2 separate regions of the Homo sapiens genome follow, and region 1 is linked to region 2. The links are contacts of gene promoters, found by promoter capture Hi-C in human tissues and cell types (Jung and others, 2019). All regions are on one chromosome and are shown on one strand. Each heading gives the region's core, a stretch centred on a gene start or on the middle of the fragment in contact. The rest is flanking DNA. Distances are from core to core; before and after follow the strand shown. Region 1 overlaps CCDC146 (coiled-coil domain containing 146). Region 2 holds the start of CCDC146 (coiled-coil domain containing 146).

Evidence for each region. Contacts are between HindIII fragments. The study calls those that stand out against the background at their distance.
Region 1: a contact is called between a fragment that was not itself captured here and the fragment with the promoter of CCDC146 in region 2, in 6 of the 25 tissues and cell types used here (H1 embryonic stem cells, IMR-90 fibroblasts, aorta and 3 more).

Annotation. Positions count from the first base shown.
Region 1 is chr7:77,212,598-77,215,297 of GRCh38, forward strand. All of the region lies in intron 2 of CCDC146 (coiled-coil domain containing 146), which reads left to right. Among named protein-coding and RNA genes, the nearest start is that of FGL2, 14 kb to the left of the region's middle. The HindIII fragment of the contact is 4,628 bases long and covers 1-2,700 here.
Region 2 is chr7:77,121,362-77,124,061 of GRCh38, forward strand. CCDC146 (coiled-coil domain containing 146) reads left to right here and starts at 1,254. Exons shown (of 19, transcript NM_020879.3): 1 at 1,254-1,371. It also overlaps the pseudogene FAM185BP. RefSeq lists enhancers at 43-544, 545-1,044 and a silencer at 940-1,039. The HindIII fragment of the contact is 9,649 bases long and covers 1-2,435 here.

The sequences.
Region 1 (2,700 bases), core at 1-2,500, 91 kb after region 2:
GTGACAGAGCAAGACTCCGTCTCAAAAAAAAAAAAAAAAAAAAATTGAAGAAAAAAATCCCATTCACAGTGATATGTCTCAAATAAATAAACAAATAATAAATAAATAAACAAAAAAGAAAAGAGTAAATTATTCATGGTTATTGGCTAAGCCTGTAAGTGTCATTAGCAGATTCTAGCCTACATGGCAAGAGGTAAGGTAATGTGGTAATGTAATAGAAAATTTTTTTTAAGAAGCTGGGCCATTTGTCCCATAAATTTTTCCATAATCTGGATTTTGCTTAATAGTAAGCCTGTATTTCCATTATAATCATAGAGCCTTAGTGCATAAATGTTTTATCCAGGTCACATTAATTTTTTTTTTTTTTTTTTTTGCCAAGGCTACTTTCTAGGTGGTGCCATCAACTTTGTTTTTTGTTGTTGTTCAAGTTTTTATTAAATTTTTTATTGTCACATGTACATATTTATGGTTTACATAGTGATGGCTTTTTGTGTGGTGGTGGTGGTGGTTTGAGGCAAGATCTCACTTGGTCACCCAGGCTGGAGTGCAGTGGCGCAATTACAGCTCACTGCAGCCTTGACTTCCTGGGCTCAAGCATCCTCCCACCTCAGCCTCCCGAGTAGCTGAGTCCACAGGTGTGCACCACTATGCTTGACTAATTTTTTTTTAACTTTTAGTAGAATCAAGGTCTCACCACATTTCCCAGGCTGGTCTTAAATTCCTGATTTCAATCAATTCTCCCACCTCAGCCTCCCAAAATACTGGGATTACAGACATGAGCCACCTTGCTCTACCCATAGTGATGTTTTGATACTTATAATGTATAGTAATCAGATCGGGTTAATTAGCATAGCTGTCATTTCAAACATTTATCATTTCTTTTTAATTATTATTTTAAATTCAGAGGTTATATGTACAGGTTTGCTACACAGGTATACTGCATAATGTTGGGTTTGGCTTTCTCTTGAACCCATCACATAAATAGTGAATATAGTACCCAGTAGGCAGTTTTTAAACCCTCACTGCCCTCCCTCCCATTCTGAAGTCCCCAGTGTCTATTGTTTCCATCTTTATGTCCATGTGTACCTATTGTTTAGCTCCCACTTATAAGTTAGAAAATGAATACTTTGATTTTGTTTCTGCATTCATTCACCTAGGATAATGGCCTCCAGCTGTATTCATGTTGCTGCAAAGGACATGATTTCATTCTTTTTTATGACTGCATAGTATTCCATGGTGTATATGTATCACATTTTCTTTATCTAATCCTAATGGATGGACACTTAGGTTGATTCCATGACTGCTATGGTGAATAGTGCTGCAATAAATATAAGAGTGCAGGTGTCTTTTTGATAGAATGATTTCTTTTCCTTTGAGAATCCCAGCAGTGGGAGTGCTGGGTCAAATGGTGGTTCTATTTTTAGTTCTTTGAAAAATTTCCATGCTGTTTTCCACAGGGGCTGAACTAATTTACATTCCAACCAGCAGCGTATAAGGATTCCTTTTTTTCCACATCCTTGCCAACATATTATATTTTGACTTTTTAATAATAGCCATTCTGATTGGTGTGAGATGGTATCCCATTGTGGTTTTCATTTGCATTTATCTGATGATGACAAGCATTTTTTCATATGATTGTTTACTCATATGTCTTCTTTTGGGAAGTGTCTGTTCATGTCCTTTGCCCACCTTTTAATGAGGTTATTTGTTTTTTGCTTGTTGATTTAAGTTCCTTATAGATTCTGGATATTTGTCCTTTGTCAGCCTGATAGTTAGCAAATATTTTCTCCCATTCTGTAGATTGTCTGTTTGCTCCATTGATTGTTTCTTTGCTGTGCTGAATCTCTTTAATTAAATTTCATTTGTCAATTTTTGTTGTTGTTGCATTTGCTTTTGAGGTCTTAGTCATAAATTCTTTTTCTAGTCTAATGTTTAAAAGTTTTCTTTTAGGATTTATATAGTTTGAGGTCTTACATTCAAGTCTTTAATCCCTCTTGAGTTAATTTTTATATGTGGTGAGAGCCAGGGGTACCGTTTCATTCTTCTGAATATAGCTAGCCACTTTTTCCAGTACCATTTTTTTGAGTAGGACGTCCTTTCCCAATTGTTTCTTTTTGTCAGCTTTGTTGGAGATCAGTTGGTTGTAGTATATGGCTTTATTTCTGAGTTCTCTGTTCTGTTCCATCGATCTGTGTGTCTATTTTTGCACCAGTACCGTGCTATTTTGGTTACTACAGCCTTGTAGTATAGTTTGAATTCACAAAATGGGATGCCTCTTGGTTGCATGAACTTTCATCAGGAGGCACATGATATTGGTTGTCTCCCTTTTAGTGATGTTACCTGCTATTAATAATACTTGCCTGGGTCTATTAATTCATTAGGAATTTTAAATGACAATATTATAATACTATTATTTTCTCTTCACTTATTTATTAGAATCCTTCTAAAAAGAGAAGCTTCCACTCAGTTATTTGGTTACCCTGCTGTAGAGGCATGATAAATACTTGATTTTCAGGTTTTCAAAATGATTAATTGATTCCCCAGTATCCTTCAAAGGTGAGAGGTGTTGTGGGGTGTTTTTATTTTTTTGGTGTTTTTTTTTTTTTGAAGTATTACTGTGAACTCATTTACTTAAACATAGTTATTCCCATCCTTTATAGTTGTTAGCTCATTGCCAGTCCTCCTGGCCCATTTTTTGGG
Region 2 (2,700 bases), core at 4-2,503:
CCAGTTTGCTAATGACAACGGGATAAAGAAGAACACAAGCGGCTCCAGAAATAGAATTTGACCTGGATTATACCAAATCGTGTTTCCATTCGATGTATAAAATTTCTATAATTGGGAACCTAATTTTTTAAATACTACTCGGATACTCAAGAATAGAACAGAGGAAAAGTTGCATTTCCGAAGGGGCCAACTGTAAATTAGGTTTAGAAAGCCAGGACCAATTAAAAGTGCACGTCGACCAAATTTATTAAGTTCACTGTGCGTTCCCTGGGACCCAAACCCGTTTTCACTTCACTTCACTTGCCAAACTTCAGGGGCGCGTTCACCTCCACGGACGCCTGGGGGTGGATAGTATCAGACACAATGGCCATCTCCTCCAGATCCTCGTCGTACTTCACCTGCAGGCCGTCCAGGCCCCGCACGCCGCCCTCCACGCCGCACACCGCGACCAGCACGCGGTCGCCATCCGGGTAGGTGAGGGGGTCCAGGGGCCTCACGGCCAGGTGGCACGGGAGCCGCGCCCGCAGCCGACCGAACGGGCTCACCTGCAGTGTCCACTCCTTCAGAGTTCGGCGCGCCGGGCCAGGCGGAGGGACCTCAGTCTCCGATCCGGGCCAGCGCTCGCCCCTACCTGAGCTGTACGGCCTGGCTTGGCAAGCCCAGCAAGACCAGCGCCCAGCGCCAGCCCACAGTCGGACCTGACGGAGACAGAGACGGAAGCAGCCAAGCTCCCAACCTGAACAGGGGGCAAGCATGGCGCGCCTCTCTCGCCAGTCCTCAGAACACTTCAGCCACAGGGAGGGTCACTTGCCACGGCCAATCGACTTGGCCACTGTGCCGCCTCAAGTCAAATAGGAGACGTAAGTCAGGGTTTGCTGAAACAAGAGCGAGCCGGTTGGCTTGACTAGGCGATGTAAACATCAGCTGCGTAATCCCCAGGGGCAAGTTGGGATTTGAAAGCTCTGAACTCTGACCTGGACCCCTTGCCTAAGTCCACCCCCTTTCGCTAAGGCCGACGGGATACGTAGTTCTAAAGCGGTGGAAAGTCGCAGAGCTCCGCCTCTTAGAAACCACATATCCCAGGAGGCAATGCGCAGGGGAGCACGGGTAAGAGGGCAGGTGTTAGAATCGCTGGAAAGGCGGGCGCCCTTTGTTTCAAGACCATTGGCTATTGGAGGGGCGGTACATGGGAGGCCACTGGCCAATGGGAAGCACGGAAGGGGGCAACGAGGGTAAAGCTGCATGGTCACCTTGGATACCAAGGACGCGACTTCTTGTTTGGAGAGGGTGGAGCTTTGGAGTGAGACCCAGGAGGCCAAATCCCAAAGAGAAAAATAGGAGCCTAAATAAGGATCAGGACCAAGGGAAGGGGTAAGAAACTGCGCTTTTTAAGTTGACAACTAGGTGCAAACTAGGAGTAACCTATGTGGATGTCAAGATCCAAGCTTCACTAACCTAGTGCGGGCATCTCCAGGGCATGGAGAATGCCTTGGTAAGAGAGTAAAGAGCAAGATTGGTGCTTTTTGAGGGAATTGCCTCTTTGGAAGTGTATTCCCTCCTATATTCCAAATATAGGAATAGAGTACTTGCTCCGTCCTGACCCTAAGTGACCTTACTTTGGGTTTTAATTTGCTCACTTTAAAAATGTAGATGATAATACCTTCCTTGCCTTGCCTCAAAGGGTTTTTGTGAGGATCAAGTAAGAAAATGGATGGGACCGTGGTGCACAGTCTACCAAATTACCGTGTAAAGTACTGTATTTTTATTTCAACGTACTTAACATTGATTCTGAGTTACCAAGAAAATTATGAGAGATCAGAACTTGTTTTGAGAATAGCATTGATCTCTTTGACTACAAATGATCATCAGTTTTAGAGTGAAAAAAAAAAAGACACAAAAAAGAGAGTCACCATGGTGCGGTGGAAAGAGCAGGGACAAGGGTCAGATTATTTTCCTGGCTCTGCCACTGCTTCATCTGTGTCACCTAGACCTGTTTCTTTAGTTTTAAAATGAAGAAAGATGGTTCTAAATGACCCTATAAGGTGTGTGTGTGTGTGTGTGTGTGTGTGTGTGTGTGTGTGTGTGTGTGTGTGTGTTTACCTTTTATAATTCTATGGGCAGTAAAATAATGGGAACAGAAAGATTTATTTTCTTCTTTTTTTCTTCTTTCCTGCCTGGTTTCTCTCTCCCCCTCTGTGCCCCTACTTCCTCCTAAAATGTATTCCCTAAATTATTTAGCCAAGACACCTGCAAACACTAACATTTCATAAAATGCAAGTGCCTTAAAAAATTGAAGCCCTTACCCAAGTACAATGACCAGAATTCTTGGGGCTATCGTGATAGATAGACTGGGCTAAAGTTCTCATGGGTACAAGTCTCAGGTTCTCTGCTAGCCACTACCTTTTTAAAATTTTTAAAAATTCAGTGTTCTCTTAAGTTATCATTGCCTCTTTTCTGTCCTTCTAGTCCTTGCTCCCTCCTTATTCTTCTTTCGGTGAAGACTCACTCATTATAGGTGCTAGCTCAGGTTCAGCAAGGGCCCACTGCAATAGTTCTTTTCTTGTCTTTGTGTTTCATTGGTTATAATTATTCAGAATAATCTTCAAACTATTTTTTATGAAAATTGACAGGTGTAACTTTGAAAAGAAATTTGAAAAAGGCACTGGTTTAAGGAAGTTGAGAATGTACTCAAATTTTCTG